Linked DNA regions of Homo sapiens: regions 2, 3, 4 and 5 are each linked to region 1. Evidence: promoter capture Hi-C in 16 types of primary human blood cells and fetal thymus (Javierre and others, 2016). All regions are on one chromosome and are shown on one strand. Each heading gives the region's core, a stretch centred on a gene start or on the middle of the fragment in contact. The rest is flanking DNA. Distances are from core to core; before and after follow the strand shown.

Region 1 (4,561 bases), core at 1,204-3,703:
TTTGCAAGCTCATTTCAGCCACTCTCCCCTCACCTTCCTCAGCTCCAGCCACGCCTTCCTCAGCTCCAGCCACGTAGGGTGCTTTTGGTTCCCAAACAGGCCAACCCATCTGTCTCCTCAGGAGCTCTCAATGAGCTGATCTCTCTGCTATTTGCTTTTTCAAGGAACCCTTCCCTGACCACCCATCCAGTTATAATACATCACCCCTTGGCACCGTGGGCTTTTCCTTCACTGCACCCTCTTCTATTAGTTGTTTTTCCTCCTTGTGGGACTGTAAGCCCCAGGAGGGCAGGCACCATGGCTGTCTGACCCACTGCTCTGTCACCATTGCCAATCCTGATAGGTACTGATAGGGTGAAGATGGAGTGTCTGGTATCGTCATATCCCAGTCCCAGGACAGCTGTGTGGCCACCTACCATTTGGGGACTGTTTTCTTTTTAAAATTTAAAAAAAAATTTAAAGTCTACACCCCATGATTCTGTATGGGGACTGTTTTCTTTTAGCCCCAAAGTCCAACAGGAGCAAATCCTTTAGTGGCTCTTAAAGCTAGAGTTCAGCTGTTTGGAGGAAAGGGTGACAGAGCTGACCCACAGGGTAGATGCGACATCTTCCCCTGGAGCACTAAGGCCAAACAGGAGCCCCCTGGACGTTTGGGAGCAGGCTTTACAAGCCCTGCCTAAAGCTAAGATGTCATTAGAGTGATGCGTTGCATCCCTGCCTTGTTCTCTAAGGAAGCTTTGGTGTTTTCAAGACAGGCCCTTTCCCCCCTGGCCCATTGTCCTTACTTGTTTTCATTCTGTATAGTGCTGTTATTACGGGTCAGGCCTCCTTGCACTCATGTGAAATCGTTGAGAACCTACTCAATTAGAAAGTTCTGAACAGGGCCTTAGAGGAGTGGGGGCTAGAAAGATGAACCTGGGGCCAGGCACGGGGGCTCATGCCTGTAATCTTAACACTTTAGGAGGCAGGGGCTGGAAGATCACTTGAACCTGGGAGCTGGAGGTTATGGTAAGCCATGATCACACCGCTGTATTCCAGCCTGGATGACAAAGCAAAACCCAGTCTCTAAAACATAAAAGAAAGAAAGGAGGGAAGGAAGAAAGAAAGGAATGAAAGCAAGCCGAATCTGCTCCGAGGGAACCAGTATAGCAAGACAGAATGTAATCAAGTATCTTAAGAGTGGCCTAGGCTTGGCTGGGTGCTGTGGCTCACGCCTGTAATCTCAGCACTTTGGGAGGCCGAGGCAGGCGAATCACTTGAGGTCGGGAGTTTGAGACCAGCCTGACCAACATGGAGAAACCCTGTCTCTACTAAAAATACAAAATTAGCCGGGCGTGGTGGCGCATGCCTGTAATTCCAGCTACTCGGGAGGCTGGGGCAGGTGAATCGCTCGAACCTGGGAGGCGGAGGTTGCGGTGAGCCGAGATGGCGCCATTGCACTCCAGCCTGGGCAACAAAAGCGAAACTCCGTCTCAAAAACAACAACAACAACAACAACAAAAAGTGGCCTAGGCTTTTTGGGGAACAAATTGGTTGTGGCTGGCCCTCAGGGAGCAAGCTTTGCGGCATAGCAGCGTAGGCTAAAAGGTCCTCCCCGGAGACAAAATCTGCAGGGACCACGGGGTGGGAAGCATCAGAAGGCTGCCCACTCTGACTGCAAATACAACAAGCTGGAGTGTTCCTAGAAGAGGCAATTTCTTCCGCGTGTGTGTTGGGGACAGCCTGTGTGTGTGAACATTTTCTGCCCTTGCCGCGCAGAGCTGGGTGGACCAGAAACCACCCGCAGAGGAAGAGACTTATTACCTCTTGGCCATGTCTGTCTCCAGAAGAACCGACCTTTCCTGCTCTATGTGCAACAAGACACACCTTCCGAGGAAGGAGGCGAACAGGATTTCCATCATTACTACTGCCCTATTAAAACACACACATACACACAACTGTGTAATTAGCCTCTGCAGGAAAGGCGCACAAACAGGATGCGTTCGAGCTGACCCCGGGATGAGCCATCCCTGTAAATATTAGGAAAAAGAACCTCCCCGCCGTGCCCCCGCCTCCGGCCAGGGCCTCTTGGGGATGGCCCTGCAGGGTCACCAGCCCACCGGGGAGGTTGGGAGAGAGGGGGCGGGCGACTCCTCGCCGCGCGGGTTCCTGGCTGGAGCGCCCTCCTCTGCGTCCTCCCAACCTTCCATCGCTCCCCAGGTCAGTCTACCACGCCTCAGGTGTTTGCTCGGGCTGGGCCACGAACCCTTTCCTTTTTGGCCTGCGCCCGGGGTGGCCCCTAACCCGCAGCGCACGGCCAGACCCAGCGCTACAAGGAGGGCGCGCAGGGCGGCGCAAGCGGGCACTGGCCTCCCGGGGGCTTGCGCGGGGATCCACCCACCGCAGGGCCGGGCCGCGGACCGCGGGCCACGCCCCTGGGGTCCGGAAGGCGCGGGAGCGGACGCGGGGGTTCTGTGAACTTGGAACCTGGCGGTGCGAGGTTCTCGCCGGGGATGCGGCGGCGGCAGCTGCTTCCTGGTTTGAAGCTCGCCGAGTGGGGGAGAGCGTGAGCCTTCGGAGGCGGGGGCAGGAGGAGAAGCAAGAGGAGGCGGGGGAAGAGACGCTTGGGGCTGGGGCTCACCGGACGGGTAGGTCCGGCTCTCCAGGGAGAGGAGCTGCCCGGCCCTGGAGAAGGGGCGAGTCCTGCGCGAGTCCCCGGGAGGCGCCGCGCGCTTGGAAGGGACGGTCGGGCTTCCCCGGCCCGCTGAGGGCTCGGCGGCGGGCTCCCCTCCTTTCCACCTCGGGAGGGAGGGAAGGAGGGGAGGGAAAAGTCCCACGGAGGAGGCAGAATGGCCAGTCGAGGGGCGCTTAGGCGCTGCCTTTCCCCAGGGCTGCCTCGACTCCTGCACCTGTCCCGAGGGCTGGCCTGAGACGGGACTCCCGGTTCTCCCGCTGCGAAGCAGCGCGGCCCCCCGGGGCCGGGGCAGCGGCGCCGGCATGTCGTCTGGCACCATGAAGTTCAATGGCTATTTGAGGGTCCGCATCGGTGAGGCAGTGGGGCTGCAGCCCACCCGCTGGTCCCTGCGCCACTCGCTCTTCAAGAAGGGCCACCAGCTGCTGGACCCCTATCTGACGGTGAGCGTGGACCAGGTGCGCGTGGGCCAGACCAGCACCAAGCAGAAGACCAACAAACCCACGTACAACGAGGAGTTTTGCGCTAACGTCACCGACGGCGGCCACCTCGAGTTGGCCGTCTTCCACGAGACGCCCCTGGGCTACGACCACTTCGTGGCCAACTGCACCCTGCAGTTCCAGGAGCTGCTGCGCACGACCGGCGCCTCGGACACCTTCGAGGGTTGGGTGAGTAGCGGTGACCCCTTCCCTTTGTGTCCACCCAACCCCCGTTCCCCTTATGTTTTTCAAAACTCACCCGGGTCCCGCTTTCCCATCGCTTTGTGGCTGAGGGAATTCCCTCCAGACTTTGGTCTTCGTCCACGTGGCCGCGGCACTGGTGACGCGACCGCGGTGGGTGTGTGCAGGCGCAGGTGTGTCTCCAGGAAGCCGGCCTGGACACGATCCCCTTTCAGGACAGCGGCTTGGCCTAACGGGAAGTCGGGCAGGGGTCCAGGGCGGTCACCCTTTCCGCCCAGTCTTTGGGTAAGGAGCTCCAACTTTCAGCACGAGAGTGATAGGTAGGAAAGGCAGGGAAGGAGTGATACAAAAGGGACTTGATTTGGGTAAAGTGCTTCAAGCGCTACTTAGGAGAAAGCCGTACATTCTCGCGAGTATTATTCATAATGTTTATGGATACATGTTGGTTCAGCCGCTCAGACGTGCACACGTGTTTCGGCTTGCACATCCCAGAGGTACATGAGCTACACTGGCAGGGAAATGAGCGCCTGGGTCTGCACGTTGGCAGTTTTATTATTTAGCATTTTTCCAAGGAGATGAGATTTACATATACTTGCAAGTAACTTAGTCAGTCCGAGGTGGGAGTCCTGCAGTGTGGGTTTCTGCTGCTATGGGTCTGAGAAGAGGCTGTAAGGACTCCTCAGGAGGTTGTTAACTGTCTTCCCTCCCCCCATCACCAGCCTGTGTTCCTGGGTATTGACGTGTAGCTACCCGCAGCTCTCCCCTTGCCTCTGCTTTTCACATAGTTCCCAGGAGGCATAATTTCTGCTGTAAATCAATTAAAACTTCTAGAGCGCTCTACACGGTGCTAACATGCTTTTACTGCCTAATCCTCACACTGTCTTTGTGATGCAGGTGTCATCGTTCCCACTTTGAGATGATGGAATGATAATTATAATAAAGTAGTCTGGTTTGGCAAAGTGGAGTACGCCATTTGAAGACTCTCAGGAGTTTAATAGTTTAAGTTCTGGAGGGAGTCAGTTTTGAACCCAATATCAGTATTGAAAATGTTTGAAATTTACAAGTGGTGAAATCAGATGGATGGTGATGAAGGCTCATTTAGGTATTTATTTTATACTTTGTGGAATTAGTAATTTTACCGTATATTTTCTAAAATTAAAGATGGCTTGTGGAGCTATTCCTTTCTTTTAAATAGAAGTACAAAAACCAT
Region 2 (4,561 bases), core at 974-3,473, 480 kb after region 1:
TTTCAAAATTAAAGTATGAAGTCCAAATACTAGTTATCTATTAAGCTACTTATATTGCCAACTTAATTATAATAGCTGTACCAAGTGATAAAGGCATGATTTCAGTATTAAATATTTGCTGAATTAATATTTTGTGGGAGAAGAAGGGTCGTGGCAGTGTATATAAACATACACTGTGTTTTAAAATCATACCACTCCCAGAAATCCCCGTATATGAAAGTGTTGTTCAAAGTAGATAATTAGAATTAGAGTAGTATTAATGTTATATACCAGGTTTATTTGGGGTATCTTAAAACCCATGAATAAAAAGTGGAGTCATAAGGAAAATGCAGCTTGTATGGATGCTTAATTAGGGGAATATTTTTCACTTTGGAAGTAAAGTATCCTAATTTCTTCAGAAGAAAACTACCCTGGGAATATGCAGTTCTCTATGAGAAATCATAGTGTCATCTTTGTTTTTTTTTTGTAGTACTATTATGAGTTTATGTTGTAAGCACATCCAAGATCCCATCTGGGTTTATAACCCCTTTGTCTTAATAACTCAAAGTTTTCCTAACTGTGAGTGGATATATTCAATGAGGAGAAACATTCCCAGTCTCTTTAATACCCAATTAAAGTGATTGTTCCCTGAGACAGACACAGTTGTACCATTTGCAAGCAAAAGGAAAGACAATGAACAAACTTTTGAGCAAAGGCTTTGTCTTATATAGGGATTTTTCAGAACAGCGATTTATTAGGGAACTACGTTAAAAACTTTAAAGTGCTACAAAACTATTTTACTGACTTGTTCAAAAATATTAAGAACTGCAGAGTGCTTTGGAAATGGAAATGCAAAGATATAAACGCTAAACTTCAAAATAATTACAGCTAAAAAGTAAGCTTTTAAAAAGTACTTGGATGCCAAGGAAACCAAAGTAATTGTGTGGTGACTTTTGAAGCGGCTTTTTAAAGTTATAATAATTGAAAGCTTATGTGTTTACACAGATCTTCAGATTGATATGAGACCAAGCTCTCATGGCTTGACAACTGAAGGAGACCCAGGTTTCTTTTTTTTAACTTGAATTGGCTACAATACATATTTTATTTCCAATAACCTATTTTGGTTATGACAAAAGATTTACACATGTATATAGAGATAAAATATCTTTAATTGCGGTATCTTTAAAAATGAGCTTTATGGGCTGGAAATTACTTTCATTTTGATGTAAAGAGCCCAGGAAAATAAGCATAATTACTAATGCCTTCCTAACTTACCCTTGATTCTTGAATTCTAGTTTAAAGAATGCTTGCTTTTTAAATGCCATTGAGCAAACTCTGTGGGTGCTTAAGTATTCACGTTTTCATTTTGAACACGTTTTCATTTCATCTTTTGAACAACTATAGAGTAATTTTCATTGCACATTTTTCTTATTCCCTTTATGAAAGTAAATGTCAAAGCCTCGACTTCGGGTTGTATAATTTTTTTTATGTGGTATTTTTTATGCCTGACTTATTTATTTTAATGTGCTGTATATTGCAGGTCTGAATTTTTCTTTTTATGATGAATTCGGGCTGCGTCCTTTAAGTTACAAGGAACAAAGTCACATTGACATTATCTTAAATGCTGGAGGCTTATTTTAATACTTGATCAGAGGCACAACTTCTTGGAGAGCTGGAAAAAAAATGTAGTGAACACCAGCAGCTTAGACGGCTGGGCTGAGTCCTTGCTTTTGAAGTGGATGTCTATTGCCCTGTAGTTACAATGTGCATCCTCTTATTCATGTGCTCTCCAGCTTCCCTGCCCACTTTCCCCTTTGCTACTTCTCTTGTTCTCTATAGTCCCTGAAAGAGGATCAGATTGATTCTATTAGTTATAATCCAAAATAGAGCTCCCTGATAGGGTGCAGATTATTCTGGCTACTGGCCTCCTTTTTTTTTTTTTTTTTTTTTTTTGAGATGGAGTTTCGTTCTTTCACCCAGTCTGGAGTGAAGAGCCGCAATCTTGGATCACTGCAACCTCCACCCCCCAGGTTCAAGTGATTCTCCTGCCTCAGCCTCCCAAGTAGCTGGGACTACAGGTATGTGCCACCACGCCCGGCTAATTTTTTTTTTTGTATTTTTAATAGAGACGGGGTTTCACCATGTTGGCCAGGCTGGTCCCAAACTCTTGACCTCAGGATCTACTCCTCTTGGCCTCCCCAAGTGCTAGGATTACAGGTGTGAGCCACCACACCCAGCCCCGCCTCCCTCCCCCACTTTTTTTGAGACAGAGTCTTGCTCTGTGGCCCAGGCTGGAGTGCAGTGGTGCCATCTCGGCTCACTGCAACCTCCACCTCCTGTGCTCAAGCAATTCTCCTGCCTCAACCTCCTGAATAGCTAGGATTACAGATGCGCACCACCACACCTGGCTAATTTTTGTATTTTTAGTAGAGATGGGGTTTCACCATGTTAGCCAGGCTGGTCTTGAACTCCTGACCTCAAGTGATCCGCCTGCCTTGGCCTCCCAAAGTGCTGGGATTACAGGTGTGAGCCACCACACCCGGCCTGGCCTCCCTTATGTCCAACTGAAAGGATGATGCCCCTTAACTAGGACATAGATCCCTGATACAATCAATTGTGGACAGTATAGAAGGGTCGTATACCTCAGGACAGGGCAAATTATGGGGAAGGACCCAACTCTGTCAGCTTTCTGCAGAAGGGGTTGTGAGTAGGGCAAGCCTGTAACATTTCATGGATTTGTCATTCTATTCATGGATTTGATGGAAATGATAATGATGGCAAACACAGTCGTAAATATTTTAACTTCATAATGTAAACAAGTAATGGCAAAAATGTTCACTTGGCTGGACATGGTGGCTAATGCCTGTAATCCCAGCACTTTGGGAGTCTGAGGCAGGTGGATCACCTGAGGTCCGGAGTTCAAGACCAGCCTGGCCAACATGGTGAAACCCTATCTGTACTAAAAACACAAAAATTAGCCGTGTGTGATGGCACGTGCATGTAGTCCCAGCTACTTGGGAGGCTGAAGTGGGAGAATCACTTGAACCAGGAGGTGGAGGCTGCAGTGAGCCAAGATTGCACCACTGCACTCCAGCCTGGGGGACAGAGTGAGACTTTATCTCAAAAAAAAAAAGAGAAAAGAAAAAAAAAAGTTCAGTTGATGCAGCATTGCACAGTGGAAGAGTATCAGACAGCGTGGATTTGCTCTGAGATTACAATCTGCATATGAGACGTAATAAAATCTACCTGTAAGTTAGGGATGGATATATCCCATTTTATCCTCTTCCATCCTTTGAGATATTGTCATCATATTTTACTGCTATGATATAAACCCCATCATACAGTTATATTCTTACTTTAAATAAAGGAAAAAATAGGAGAAAAAGCTGTTACATTTACCCACATGGGAACCTTATCCACTGCTCTTCATTCCTTCATGCAAATCTATGCTTTCACCTGGGACAATTTTCCCTCAGCCTGGAGACATTCTTTTAATTTATTGAAGCTTAGTTCTGTTGGAGATCAATTCTATCAGATTTTGTTTTTCTGAGTCTTTATTTAACCATTTTTGAAGGATATTTTTCCTGGATTTGAATTCTAGGTAGACACCTCTTTTCTTTCATCACGTTAAGGATTGTTGCATGTCTTCAGCCTTCATTGTTTCTGATGAGAAGTTTTCATTCTTACCCATTTTTTGGTATATAACACGCCCTTTTTCTCTGGCCACTTTTAAGTTTTTTTTTTTTTTTTTTTTTACTTTATTTTCAGCCATTTGCATGATGTGCCTAGTGCAGTTAATTTTTCCAGTATATTGTATATGTTTTTCTGTACTGGTCTCACTTGCTTCTCTTTCTAGGACTCCAATTACATGTCTGTTAACTGCTTAATACTGTCCCAAATGTTATTGTGGCTTCCTCCCACACCCCCAGTAATTTTTCTCTCCGTGCTTCAGATTGAATGATTTGACTTGTCTTCAAGTTCATGAATTATTTCTTCTTTTGTATTCAATCTGCTGTTAATCCCATTCAATAACTTTAATTTTAGATGTAGTATTTTTCAGTTCTAACATTTCTCCTTGGTTCTTCTTCATGGTTTTCATATCTGCACTGAAATGTCCCATTTCTTCACCAATTATAACATTTTTTGCTGTAGGTTTATACTATTTTATAGATACTATAAATTTATACTGTAGGTGCTATAAGTTTAGCAAATTTAGCTACCTTGAAGTGTTTGCTAGTTTCAACATTGGGGGCATCAGTATGTCTGTTTCCCCCAAAGAGTATATCTGTTTTTATTGACCGATTTATTTTTTTATTGACTGTGGTTTACATTTTCATGTTTCTTTCCCTGTCTACTAATATTTTATTGTATGATAATACATGTTAGGGACTCTGAATTCTATCACCTTCCTCTAAAGAGTGTTGAGTTTTGTTCTATAAGGCAGTTAAGTTATGACAGAGCATCTTATACTTAAAGGGGCTTGATTGTAGGCTTTGTCAGGGTGGATCTATTCAGCTTGATCCTTAGTTTTAGGGCAAATCCCTTAGTCCTGGAAGTGGTCCCTAAATCTAAGGTGTGGGCT
Region 3 (4,561 bases), core at 973-3,472, 400 kb after region 1:
GTTTGTTTGCTTCTATATTATAAAACCTCAAATTTACTTTTTGTATAATTTTTGAGGTTTTCTTTTTCATCTCATTTATTATAATAATAGCTAACCTCCATTGAGAGAATGCTGTGTGCCAGGACACTGTTCTTCCTATTTTATATGCTTTTAACTCCTTTATTCCTCACAACAACCCTGTGAAGTTAACTGTTAGACAATTTCTATTTTACTAGGAAACTGAGGTACAGAGTTACTAAGTAACTTTCCCAACATTATTTGGTTAGTAAATGGCAGAGCTTGGGCTGAACTTCAGTAGACTGGCTTCAGAGTCCACGCTCATTAGTCCTTTGGAGCGCTTTTCATATTCTTGAATTCTCACATTCTGTCTTTTTTCACTCTGTCAGCAGGACCTGACTCCTGTTTTTAAATTTCATATTGTGTTTTTACTGTTAATTTGGAAAACAAATGCATACTTTTTAGAATTCTGTATAAAGGAGGAGTAAATATGCTGTGAACAAGGACCTAAGTGGGTTGTCAATGAGTTTAATATATGAGTTCTAATGTGCAGAGTTGAGGTTTATATTGACTGCTCAGTGCTTCCCTGGGGCTAGACTATAAATGGATGGATATTAGGAAGTCTTGTTCTGATTTGGTAATGATGTTAATGCATTATTCTAAATCAGATAGTCTTAATATAGTTTAAATGTATGTTTCGAACCAAATGTTCTTTTTTAAAGCACACAAACATTTTGAAATCATTACTAATGTGGTTAATGAATTATTGATGTTCCATTGGGAAACTAAAATGCAGATTTTTCTCTTTTAGAAATCAGGGACTATTGCAAAGCATCACATTTTAGTGATACACTGAGAGCCAGTGGTGTGTTTATACAAATAGTCCTATTTTCCAAATAAATTCTAGAAAAATGCTTTAGAATTTATAAATTATACAAAATATGACTTATTTTTAGAGAGTTTAAAATTTAGGTTTTTTTAATGGTTTGTTTTTGTTTGTTTGTTTTTTGTTTTTTTTTTCCTCATTAGGAAAACACTAGTACTTTTCAGTTACCTTGATTTTTAAATTAATCTGCAGGTCCCCATTCAAAGGCCTTGGGTTCCTTTCAAAGGTCAGTATAATTCAAGCTTAGTTTATGAAGGACTGAACATACCCAAAGGATTTTGCATGTGGATCTTTACTGCCACTACCACAACCATCAACACCTACACACACACGACACACACACATTCTCTCTCTCTCTCTCTCTCTCTCTCTCTCTCCCCCTCCCTCCCGCACTCCTTCCCTTCCCCCTCCTTTGCTCTCATGGCATCTTTTAAAAATATACTCTTAAATCCTTCCAGGGAGGGCAAATTCACTTCTTAATCTAAGTAAACCCAAATGGCATGCATCAGCACCAGGACTGCCCATCTTTCCTAGTTCCATTATTCATAGAGTATAGGCTGGAATTCATCTTGTTCCTCAAGAGTCCAGCATTTCTAGTTAACCATGCCTACATTTAAACTTACTCTCATTTCTTTTCTACTTTACAGTGTTTTTTCAATATACTAGCATTACAGTTTCCAGATTTGATTTCTCTCCTGTCTTATTTCCATCAGTTTTCAAGTCTATTAAGATTCTACCTCTTCATTTGTCTTTTGCCACCATTCTTTTCCCTCATACTCTACTGGCTCAGCCCTCTCATTACAGTCACCTAATTCTAACATATATATTGCTGCTAAGTTAATTTTCCTTAAGTTACTGATTGTGCTTTTTTAAAGCCCCTTGTTGAATATTTAGGCAGGACTCCATGTGGACATCCACAGCCCTCCGTGGTACAGCCCTAACCTTCCCTTCTAGCTTTGCCTTACTACTCTTCTACGTGTACTCTACATTGTGGACAAACTACTATATGCTGTTTTTCAAACATGTCCTATTTTTCCTACCTCTGTGCTTTTCATTCTCTTACTTCTCCTTGGAATACCCTTCTAACCCATCTCTACTTACTGACATTCTAATGTCTCTTTTTCTAAGCAAGACTTCTTGATTTCCCTTGACTAGAAATTATCTTCTAAGCTCTCCCTATCCTTCTTTAAAGCATTTTTATAAGTCTCAAGTACCAACTCTACATTGTGTTTTTGTTGACCTTACTATATCTACTACATTTTTAACTTCTTCAGGAAAGGTGGCGTATCTTACTCATCTTTGTATTGCCTACAATATCTAGTCCAGGTTCTGAATAATAAATATTTTTATATGTGTTCTGAAGCACACTGACCAATGAAGATAAGAAATCAAGAGGCTAGTTCCTTATTTTTTTTAATTTTTTTTTTTGAGACAGTGTCTCACTTTGTCACCCAGGCTGGAGTGCAGTGGCACAATCTCAGTTCACTACAACCTCTGCCTCCCGGGTTCAAGTGATTCTCACGCCTCAACCTCCCAAGTAGCTGGGATTATAGGCATGTGCCACCACACCTAGCTGATATTTATATTTTTAGTAGAGATGGGGTTTTGCCATGATGGCCAGCATGGTCTCAAACTTCTGTCCTCAAGTGATCTTCCTGCCTCAGCCTCCCAAAGTGCTGGGATTACAGGCATGAGGCATAAGCCACTGCGCCCAGCAAGATGCTCTTTTCTCAGTCACCTAAATATAATCTCATTTTTAGTTATAGAAGGTTTGAAATTGGAGTGAATAGACTTTACTTAATTCTGACTTTATTTCTGTAGCTTTTTTTTTTTGAGATGGATTCTCGCTCTATATCCCAGGTTGGAGTGCAGTGGCACAGTCTCAGCTCACTGCAACCTCTGCCTCCCACGTTCGAGTGATTCCCCTGCCTCAGTCTCCCAAGTAGCTGGGATTACAGGCACCCACTATCACACCCAGCTAATTTTTGTATTTTTAGTAGAGACAGGGTTTCACCATGTTGGCCAGGCCGGTTTCGAACTCCTGACCTCAAGTGATCCTCTTGCCTCAGCCTCCCAAAGTGCTGGGATTACAGGCATGAGCCACCGTGCCCTGCCTATTTCTGTAACTTTTGATAAGTCATTTGATCTGTTGTTGTTGTTTTCTCATAGTAACAAAGTAGAAGTAATTTTCTGCCTGCTTTACTAGATAAATTAAGGGGAAAAAAATAAGATACGTAAAAATGTTATTTGTTATTAAAAAGAAAGTTGTTATTTTAAAGGTTCTATAAAGACATAGAGTGCTTATTAGAAATTGAGCTAACACATTCAGGAAAGGATAGGAAGAGTTTGCTGAAGTTCTTTCTTTAGGGATTCTTGTGTACCGATAGCACAGTTAAAGAGCAAACTCATACCATTTTTATATTTCTGTGTATTTGACTAAGCTTACTGGCTTCAATGATTAACTGTTATCCCAAATATGGATTATCTTTCAGCCAACTCAGGGAATCACAGCTACTGAGTAGTGTGTGTCAGATCTCTTGGGTGTGCTGGAGTGAGTAAAAGGGGAATGAATTACTGTGTTCATGCTGAGACTTAATTGAACGGGTATTCAGTTGATCTAGGTGATGGGCACTTTGTTACTTTTATTGTAACAAATTTGTATATTTAGTTGCTTTAAAACTTTATTTCATGCTTTCATTAGGCCTTGTGAAAAAGGGTAAAGAACAAAACACACAGCGAAGCTTTTTTCTCAGAATGAAGTGTACCCTAACTAGCCGAGGAAGAACTATGAACATAAAGTCTGCAACATGGAAGGTAAGTGAAAATTATTTGTGATTGATTATACACTTTATTTATACATAGACATTGTAGTATTAAGATAACTTTAGAATTGTGAGGGAAGGTTTACAGTTCCATGGTGTTTGGTTATGTAACATTTATATCTTCAACTCATTTGCATGTGATCTCCAAAATGCAGAACCGTGTAGTAATTTGCCAATTTGAGGCACAAACTTAAATTACGTGAATTGTGGCACTGGTGTTCCAGGCTTAATCAGTTGGCTTTGCCAGCCACACAATATTTGAATCCTGATAGGGCTTAATTTTCTATTAATCATGGTTTTATATCTTTGTTCAATGTTGAAACATAGTCATCAGTGCAAGAAATAACTATCAAACAGCCATGATGATGAGATGAATGAAAAAGCAGCCTAGACTTTATACGAGGGGAATTTTTTAAAGAGTAATGTATAGGCCCTGGGCAGGAAGTAGGTCATAGGTGGTATCATAGGAAAAATGTTCATTGATTTTCAAAAACGTGATTAATCCACTAGTGACAGTAAATTTTATCAAAGCTTACTGGCCATGTCAGACTCAACTACTTATCTCTGCTTTTTTTTTCCCTAGCATTGTAAATATTTTTTTTAACTGCTTTGTTCTTCATACACAGGTATTGCACTGCACAGGCCACATTCACGTATATGATACCAACAGTAACCAACCTCAGTGTGGGTATAAGAAACCACCTATGACCTGCTTGGTGCTGATTTGTGAACCCATTCCTCACCCATCAAATATTGAAATTCCTTTAGATAGCAAGACTTTCCTCAGTCGACACAGCCTGGATATGAAATTTTCTTATTGTGATGAAAGGTAAATTAGATCTAAAATGTGAATTTG
Region 4 (4,561 bases), core at 981-3,480, 380 kb after region 1:
GTTTACAATCATTTGATCTGGCTAAACTATTTTAATGTTAATGAAATTTTAAAATTTTGGAGGAAAAAATTTAAAAACTACACAGGTGCACAAAGAAATAAAAATCACCTGCTTTTTCACTATGTAGAGACCATTGTCTACTATTTCTCAATTCTGTGTTACATCTGTATGTTAATAACTGTAGGATTAGGGACTGAGTACTGTTTTTAACCTGCTTTTAAAAAATTTACATCTACATTTTTTCCCATCTAAATAGTGAGGAAGAGTATCAGAATTTTGTAGGCTTGTGGTGATGGTTAAATTAGATAATATTAATGTTGGGTACTTAACATAATATATGGCTCTTAATACTCTCCAGATTTCAGATATAGTCTGTTTTACCATTACTGCCTTTTTATCAAACCTATTCTCAAAAAAGTGAGAAAAGTGCTGAGATTACAGGCGTGAGCCACCATGCCCGGCCTCATGGTTCTTTCTTAATAATAAATTAGAAGAAGTAGAATTACAGGGTCAAAAAGTATCCATTTTAAAGCTTTCAATGTAATTGCCTGTTTATCTTCTAGAAAGTTTGACCTAGTTGTATTTTAGAGTGTCATTTTCTTGAACTTTATCATCATTAAAGTTTTAAATTTGGAACACTGGCAATTTGATAAGTATATTAGGATTCTTCTTATTGCAAGTAGCAAAATACAACTCAATCTAGTTTAAGAGGGGAAAATGTAGTCATTGGCTAACACAATCTAATTTTGGTTTAAGAGACAAATCTAGAGTCTCAAATGATCTCAGAGTGTAATAATCCCTGACTTTTGTCTTGATATTACTTGGCTTGTATACCTTTGCTCTATTTGCATGCTGGCCTTACTCTGCCACTGACAGGCTGTCTGTATGGTGTGGAAGAGGACGGCTAGCATCCCCATACCTGCATCCATACAGTTTGTAATATAAAAAAAAAAAAAGTAAAAAAAACTCCCTCTCTCTTCTAGTGTCTATATATCAGTTTCCTAGAAGAAAACGTTTTGCCCTACTTGGCCATGTGAATGGAGTTCCCTGATTACATGAGTCAAATATGTCTTATTGTAGCATATTTGATGGTCTTCTTGTAGAATATTATCTTACTATACACAGAACTCTTGACCAGTAATTAATGGGCCATGAGTTTTTGTTGCAAGTCATTTGAATTCATATTCTATAGTTTTCTACCAAGTGTAGTCATTCTGCAAGCTGTTCTTGTCATGACTTTTGGGAAGTTGAGTATTTCTTCTATGGGTTAGGGTTTTCATCTCAAGAAAAAGATGATCCTTTTCTCTACTAAATATGTGTTAAGATCACACATTTTTCTAGATCGTTTAGCTCTACTGTGTGATCTTACACAAATTGCTTTATTGGGATGATAAGAATAATTGCCTTATAGGATTGTTATGAGAATGAAATGATACATCAACTCATATGAAACACTCAGAACAGCTCTTGGCACAAAGTAAGGGCTTAATTAAGTAGAAACTATCCATATATTCATAATATTATAGTATTGGTTAAGTTGTTTTCAACATTGTTTAGAATCGCTCAAGCCTTCTTTGTGATAATCTGACGAAGGCTATTCACCACCAGTGAGTAAATAATAGTGGCAGAATAGTTACTGATGCTTTTCCTTTACTTGGTTTTTTTTCCATAAACATCTGGCCTTTGCAGACTAAATACTGGTTTATGTATAGACATGTTATTCTAAAATAATTTTCCATAGTGGTAATACTAAAGGAAGAAAAATGTTCTCAAAGCTATTTATTTGGGATGTTAAAGGAGGGGGAAATTAAGAAAGCCTACATTTCCATGTCCTTTGTGTCCAGAATCTCATTAAATGTCTTTTAACTTGTTAGCAGAGGAAAGTTGGATATTGCCTGCCTTTGTAGCTAACATAGTTAAAATATTTAAATGGTTATAGTGTCAAACCAGTAGTCAAAGCCTTCACTGTGAATGGATGAAGGGATATTTTCTTGAATAATTTAAGTTGACTTATTTCAGTGGTTCAAAAAATTTCTTCAACGCTTAACCATGACTCAGGCACCTAACTATTATACTATGTCCTGTAACAGATTGTTGTGCATTCATTTATTCAACAGGTATTTGTGCAGCTAATTTATTGAGTACAGCATTGAATCGTTGATGGCTTAGGCCACAGTTGAACATTCCATTTTTTATGTTCATTCATTCATTCATAGCATATTCCATTTTTAAATTTTCAGTTCATTGCACTTTAAAGTTTGAGGTTCTTGCGAAGTACAGACTTTTGGGTTTAAGTTTTGTTATTTAATGTCAACCACCACAGGCGCATTGGCCAGTCTGCTTTTAGAATTTTCAGACATACATACACAAAACATTCTCACAAGACAATCTACTTATTTTCTTTTTTATTCCTGTGTTTCTTAACACAGGATTAATGTTCAGATCTCTTTTGGAGCAAAATAATCCTCTGAATTTTTGAGATGTACCCAGTGACCTCAGTCTGAGTATGTATACTGCATTAAAAAATGTAACCTTGTTCCTTTTAGTGGTCATTTGGTAACAGTTTGATCATAAACAAATGCAGCCTCAAACACAGAAGGCTTGAGGCAAGTATACAGAACTATGGAGAGATCATTTAGATGATGTAGAATATGCCTTTTCTTTTTTTACAATGCCACCAAAATGAAAACACGGTTTTAAAAATTCTCATAGAGTGTAACTTCAACACTGCTTTAACTCTATTAAACAAAGCACTGCCATGTTGTAATTCCTATTTATTACTCTCTGGAGTTGTATAAATTACCAAATCCGCCTTTTGTTTGATATCCTTTTCAAATATCTGAGGGTAGCTATCATGTTTCTTCCTTCTATTCTTAAAAAATAGTCCCAAATTTCTTGAATCTTTTAATTTAAAAATTATATATTGAGCATCTGATTTGTGGAAAGGCATAGGCCATATTAAAAATGGGGCTTCATATTAAAATGGGGAAAAGGGTGGAGATTCTCAGGTGGAATCTGAGATCTGCCACACACTAATAGTGTTACCTAACCCTTTTTAAAGACAAAGAAACAGGATCAGAAGGTCACTTTGGAAAATTTATTTGGTAATATTGGATAGGATGGATTAGTATAGTTGGAAAACAGAGACTCTTGCTTTAGGAGAGCTGCTCCTTTGTCATTTCCAGAATCTTAATCATGGTCAAGGTTTAGAGCTAAATATTTAATAGAAGAAGTCTTTAGGGTATGCTTTCTATTGTACACCCTTATTTCAATACATGTGTTTTTTCCTGTTATGTAAGTACTTTATTATTATTTATGCATCTTCTATTAAAGTTAAGCAAATAATTATTTCAAGGACACATTCTTCTACATACACACAAAGTTTAGGGTCACTGACCTTCTTAGGTTCTAGTCTTAGATCTGTTACCATCTAAGAGCATATAAATAAGGGAAACAGAAAGAAAAGGATTTACAAGCTGAGAAGGAAGCAATGCAGAGAAAGAAGAGTGATAGAGTAGGTAATTTGGGGAAAGTCAGTGATACACAGCTCTTAACCATGAACAGTGATTCTTCACTCTTGAATGTTTGTGACATTCATGAAGGTATTAAAAGCTGACTTTTAAAAAATTGTTTCAGAGAACTGGAAAAAAATTCAGTTGCCACATTCTTCCTTAGGTCATCTTTGAACTCTACTCATGCACTTACGTGTTTAAGGCAAAGTTTTACTAAACGCACACTTGTTCTTGCTGGCTTATTGACTTTTACTGCTAGCTTCTTATTCTTAGCAATTATACCTCACATTACATAGTATTGTGAAACTCACTATATTCAGTGTTTTGCCTGACAAACATGGTATGTTATAGGATGTGTATTCAGTTATAGCTAAAAATAAATTATTCTCGTTTTTCAAAATTTGCTGGCCTACCTGTTAAGCTTTTGCTTTAAGACCTGCTAATGTTTCTCAAACTTCTGTGGTTAAATCACCTGAGTGTCTAGTTGCTCTATGGATTCCCAGGGACCCATTCGCCAGAGATTCTGATTTGGTAATTTTGGGATGGAACTCAGGGATCTGTAAATTTTACAAGCACTCAGAAATGAAACATAGACTTTAAACAGCTAAGAGTGCTCATCAGGATTATGTTGATATTATTTTTTAAACAGATGTGCCAAGCCTTTAATTTGAATTTCCAGGGTTGGGATTTGGCCTTCTATATTTGGGGGAAAAAAGTTCTATTGATGATTGTGGATATATACCACAGGTCAACCATTGAATAGTCTAGTCAGTGTAGTTAGTGTATTTTATAATTACTAAGTTCTAAGTATGTGGTGTATTAATGTCTTAGGAGGTGGATATATTTCCTGTATTTGTAAAGCATTTGGGTAGGTTTTTTAAAGAGAAAAGTATGTAACAAACTAGTTTTGAGCGTTGCTCTTTTACTTCTTTGGGCATTTTTGAAGAACACGTTAAGTATCTTCTTAGAGCAGAGGGGCTCAGAGTGGTCCCCAGATTATCATCATTGGTAACACCTAGTTGGTGCATTACTAACTTGTTAGAAATGCA
Region 5 (4,561 bases), core at 1,362-3,861, 360 kb after region 1:
TAATAGCACAGCAGCAGTGAGTTGCTAGGTGAGAAAGGAAACAGTTTTCTCCCTTCTGTGTTAAACTATGTTAAAGGGTCCCACAGCAACATTTCTTAGAACCTAATGTGTTTAAAACCAACAAAAAACCCAGAACTGCTCTTCAATCCCTTAGCTTTTGTTGCTAAATCCAATTCACACCAGGCTTTTTCCCTATAGGGCAAATTGTCTGTGAGATTCAGCTGGTTTTTTTTGTTCTATTTTGCTCTCATTAGATTCTTCATTATCTAAAAGTTCCTGTGTATGCTTGAGATCCAATTATTGATGCTATCCCAGTTATTTTCCCAAAAGGCTTATCAGCAACCTTATAAATCAAATCAAATGGAATAGATGTACATGGAAAGGAAGGTGCCTATTTCTGTCCCCATAGCTGTATTGGAATCTTAGTTTTGGCCAACCCAGAAATGCCCTATTATATTTTCAAAATAAATATTTGTAAAATATTTTACTAGGCAACTTAATATATATTTAAAAGGAAAAAAACTAAAACAGGATTCTGGAGATTTGAATCCTAGTCTTATCACTAATTTTCTTTGTAAACTCCTGCCATAAACCTATTTCTTAGTGCAATGTATTAAATAGTTTTGCATGGTGGCTTTGAAAATCAAATAAGGAGATGGATGCAAATGCACTTTGAAAATATTAAATGTTCAATTCAAATGTGAAGAATTCTTATCTTTGTAATACTTAACAAAAATTTGGTCTTTGACTCTAATTGTCCACCTATTTAGTTATAATACTCACTCTACGTTTCTCAGTCTTAATTTTCTTTTTTTTTTTTGAGACAGAGTCTCACTCTGTCGCCCAGGCTGGAGTGCAGTGGCATGATCTTGGCTCACTGCAAGCTCCGCCTTCTGGGTTCACGCGACTCTCCTGCCTCAGCGTCCTGAGTAGCTGGGACTACAGGTGCCCGCCACCACGCCTGGCTAATTTTTTTGTATTTTTAGTAGAGATGGGGTTTCACCGTGTTAGTCAGGATGGTCTTGATCTCCTGATCTCGTGATCCACCCGCCTCGGCCTCCCAAAGTGCTGGGATTACAGGCTTGAGCTACCATGCCTGGCCTCTCAGTCTTAATTTTCTAAGGACTGTGTAAAATAAATTATTTTAAAGGAGCTTTGTCATAAAATGTTAGAGCTAGAAGAGAATTGGAGATCATATGCTCAAATCCCTTATTTTAGGATGAAAAAAGTGAAGCATAAAGAAGGAAGTGTTATCAGAATTGTGGATGGTGGAACAGGTCAAGAACTCAAGATCCTGATCCATAAATAGCAATCACTTCACCACATCCTAAAAGACTGTCCTCAAGGATACTAATTCTCCCTTTTCTGGGATTAGTTAACACAGCAATTATCCAACATGGGTTTCACTGAGCTTCCAAGTAAGCTATTTATTTATTCACACCATTCCTTATTTCCAGAGCTTCTACACACCAGTGCTCCTGGAACTCTTTTTAGGGCAGCAACAAAATGATATTTATTGAGCTCCTTTGCTGTGTTATGCACAGAAGGTACTGCAGATATAGCATTTAATAAGACAGACAAATTACTGCCATAATAGAGCATATATTTTACCAAAATACTGACCATAAAAGTAACATATGTATTAAAATAAAAGTAAGTTATTCTCCCAAGCTTATAGGACACACAGCTAATGTTCTTCTTGATAGTGTATTTCTTTAGTTGGAAGGCTAATGGAACATTTCTTCTCCCTAGTGGACCAACATTCAAGTTTCAGGTTTCCTAGAGGTAGTTTCCAAGTCCTTAAGCCATTTAAGAATATGTCTATGGATGCCCACATGCATTATGAGAAATACCTGTATGTCTCAGTTATCTTCCTCAGACTCAATGACACATGTATTTTTGCTAATACTCTCAGCGGCATTCATCCCCTAAACATGGAACAGCCCTTGCTAGGGCAGGAAAGAGCAAGGAACACATTTTTAACATCTGGGTCTGGCCATTTCATTTTTCCTCTGCGTTCTGGAGCGGGGATAATTCATTCAGCTATTTTATCTTCCTGAATTTTCCTCCTTTTCGCCAGCTGACAGTTAACTGCTATATATATTCTTCTGGTTGGGGTACTGGAAGCAGGGTGCGTAAAGTACCGAAGAATGGAGCTGGGATCCGGGAGTCAATGGGCCATAGGCAGAGACGAGATGAACAACCATAGGCTAAGGTGTAGATAAAATCCGGGTGATCAACCAATTGACAGTTGAACTGTAGTCTGGTGAGGATCGCATGAAGGAAAGGAACAGAAATTAGAAGAGCAATACAGTGAACAGGTGGTGAGCCTCTTTATGACAGTATCATTTCTAACAAACTTTATGGAGGTAAAATTTACATACAATAAAATAAGTCATTTTGTGTGAGCTTGATTTAAGATATGCATACATTCATGTATCCACCACTACACCAATATAATATAATAGTGTTTTAGGGTGGACTTCTGTTATTCCAAGGCATAGTTTTCTCAGCTTATTTCCTCCCACAGTTCCTCAGATAGCCAAGCACTGGGATTTGTCTTTGCTCCAGCAGCAAGTATCAATGAAGTATCAATAGCAACAAGATCTTGAGGCAAGCAAACTCTTGTTCCTGAACCGAGTTGCAATAGATCTCGCTAAGAGGATCTGGAACAGGGCTTGGAGAATGTCTGTGCAGCAAAATCAGAAAATGTTCTGTTTGCCTGGTCACATGGGGGATGTGGTAGAGACAGTCAGTTGAAGAATCCAGATGCTTGTCTGTCTAAACACAGATACAACCCACTGGATGGTCTTCCTTTTGTCTCTTATGATCCTAGAAGAGCAGACAAAAAGTGAGGGGCGGAGGTATAGTCAGGACCAGAAAGTGTTGGTCCAGGTAACGTTAGAGGGTGTCTGCAATTCCCAAGATCCACCCCAAAACTTGGCACATTGTACCTATTTAATATCATGATCCCTGTAATAAGATAATCCTGTGAAGTTCTGGCTTACTTGATACTGCCATGTAATTTACACTCACACAAGAGAGTAGCTAACCTGTCTTTGCAAGTCCAGGTATAAAATTAATCAACTTCTTGTGACTGCTTCTGCTTCTTCGTAGACAAGTTCTGACACACTTAACCAAAGGAAACTTTATAAGTTTTCCAATATAAGAGCCAAACAGCTAATGTTCCTTCATTACCCACAAAAAAAAATCAAAGGGAAAACATTATCCACCCAAAATTTGGAAAATATGAATTGCCAGTGGCTTAGGGCACATGGGAAGAAAACCAAGTTAGGATAAATATTAAGCTATGTATGATCCTTCTTTCTTTTCTGCTGTAATTCTTCCATTACAGTTTTTCATTTTAAAATAGTAAAAATCCTCAAATAAAAAAGATACAACTTGTAGTGAAAATTAACAGTTAGGGGAAAAAATAACTTTTAAATGCCACGTTCACTGGCATTTTCAATGTTTTGATAGCGTTTTTCTTCCTGATAGAAACCACAGTTGTTTTTGGGAGAATGACTGTGTCACAATAGCTTATAGAAGTAAAAGCTTGTGTCCTAAGATTTATTTTGAGATTCTCTCACCTACTCTCCATCACCTGACTGCCTGTATTATTATTATACGAGAAAAAGAGTTTTCTTCGTAGCATTGAAACAAAATAGGATGGAAATGCACAAAAATTCTGGAAGATTCACCAATTAACAAGAGTTATTGTTCAGCAGTGTTTTGGCAGAAGTTCAGCAGACTGTATATAGAACTTGAAGATGTTTCTCCTGTAGAGACATATGAACACATTTAAATTTTGGCCCCAAATAAAAAAATAACTATATAATATTAATTCATGTCATGGTAGCTTGGTCAAAATCTAGCAGGTGAATTCTATAGTAGAAGAATTCTTAGATTCATTGGCTATTTTTCACCCTTTGCTTTCATAAAAACCAGATATATCTAAGCTGGTTTGAACTGGATTTTGAAATTGTTAGTCATTTACGATAAAGAGATATAGTGTCCTTGCTGCTGAAAAATGATGTATGAGATGCGAAATCATTGTAGTCACTCCATAGATAGTAAGGACAAAGGAAAGAAAAACCCTAATCTTCTAACTGGTTGGAATAGTGAATATAGGTGGAAAGTAATTTTCTCTATTTACCTCTCATTTAAGGTTGATAGCTTTCACAAACAGATAAGGAAATTGATATGGTGGGGTTTTCCTGAAGCAAACTAATATCTAAGGTTCTCATTCTATAAAAGTTTGTCTTCCTAGCTATTAAATGTCTCCTTGCTAACCTGCCTAGAGAAATCTAATTTTATTTGCAATTAAATGTAAAAGATACTTGTTTATAAATATTAATGCCACATTAATTTTTAAATTCTTGTGATTTTGTTGACTTTATTATACATCTGTTTACTTTATAAAATATTTTTATATCATATAAATATTTATATTTAAAATATTTCATATTTTAAATATTTTACATATCATACATCTGCTTATTTTATAATATTTAAAATATTAAACATTTGTTTTCAGCAATCCTCCCACCTTGATCTCCCA

Evidence for each region. The method cuts DNA at HindIII sites, captures the fragments that hold promoters and counts their contacts. A CHiCAGO score of 5 or more calls a contact.
Region 2: a fragment that was not itself captured here is called in contact with the fragment with the promoter of PRKCH in region 1 in 2 of 17 cell types (activated CD4 T cells and non-activated CD4 T cells); the score reaches 6.9 in activated CD4 T cells.
Region 3: a fragment that was not itself captured here is called in contact with the fragment with the promoter of PRKCH in region 1 in 7 of 17 cell types (non-activated CD4 T cells, naive CD4 T cells, naive CD8 T cells and 4 more); the score reaches 15.6 in non-activated CD4 T cells.
Region 4: a fragment that was not itself captured here is called in contact with the fragment with the promoter of PRKCH in region 1 in 6 of 17 cell types (non-activated CD4 T cells, total CD4 T cells, fetal thymus and 3 more); the score reaches 10.2 in non-activated CD4 T cells.
Region 5: a fragment that was not itself captured here is called in contact with the fragment with the promoter of PRKCH in region 1 in 1 of 17 cell types (naive CD4 T cells); the score reaches 6.2 in naive CD4 T cells.

The regions. Positions count from the first base shown.
Region 1 is chr14:61,319,126-61,323,686 of GRCh38, forward strand. PRKCH (protein kinase C eta) reads left to right here and starts at 2,454. Exons shown (of 14, transcript NM_006255.5): 1 at 2,454-3,339. The coding sequence starts at 2,977. It overlaps PRKCH-AS1 (PRKCH antisense RNA 1), which reads right to left and starts at 3,693. Exons shown (of 5, transcript NR_186042.1): 1 at 3,410-3,693. RefSeq lists silencers at 2,247-2,516, 2,667-2,836 and enhancers at 2,798-3,342, 3,343-3,886. The HindIII fragment of the contact is 5,451 bases long and covers 1,557-4,561 here.
Region 2 is chr14:61,797,594-61,802,154 of GRCh38, forward strand. No RefSeq gene overlaps it. Among named protein-coding and RNA genes, the nearest start is that of SYT16, 13 kb to the right of the region's middle. The HindIII fragment of the contact is 2,517 bases long and covers 966-3,482 here.
Region 3 is chr14:61,723,122-61,727,682 of GRCh38, forward strand. HIF1A (hypoxia inducible factor 1 subunit alpha) reads left to right here. Exons shown (of 15, transcript NM_001530.4): 5 at 3,585-3,697; 6 at 4,332-4,534. All of the region lies in intron 1 of HIF1A-AS3 (HIF1A antisense RNA 3), which reads right to left. Among named protein-coding and RNA genes, the nearest start is that of HIF1A-AS2, 24 kb to the right of the region's middle. The HindIII fragment of the contact is 2,199 bases long and covers 1,124-3,322 here.
Region 4 is chr14:61,702,679-61,707,239 of GRCh38, forward strand. All of the region lies in intron 1 of HIF1A (hypoxia inducible factor 1 subunit alpha), which reads left to right. Among named protein-coding and RNA genes, the nearest start is that of HIF1A-AS1, 9.1 kb to the left of the region's middle. The HindIII fragment of the contact is 3,401 bases long and covers 531-3,931 here.
Region 5 is chr14:61,679,313-61,683,873 of GRCh38, forward strand. HIF1A-AS1 (HIF1A antisense RNA 1) reads right to left here. Exons shown (of 2, transcript NR_047116.1): 2 at 1,729-2,263. Among named protein-coding and RNA genes, the nearest start is that of HIF1A, 14 kb to the right of the region's middle. RefSeq lists an enhancer at 1-42. The HindIII fragment of the contact is 1,884 bases long and covers 1,670-3,553 here.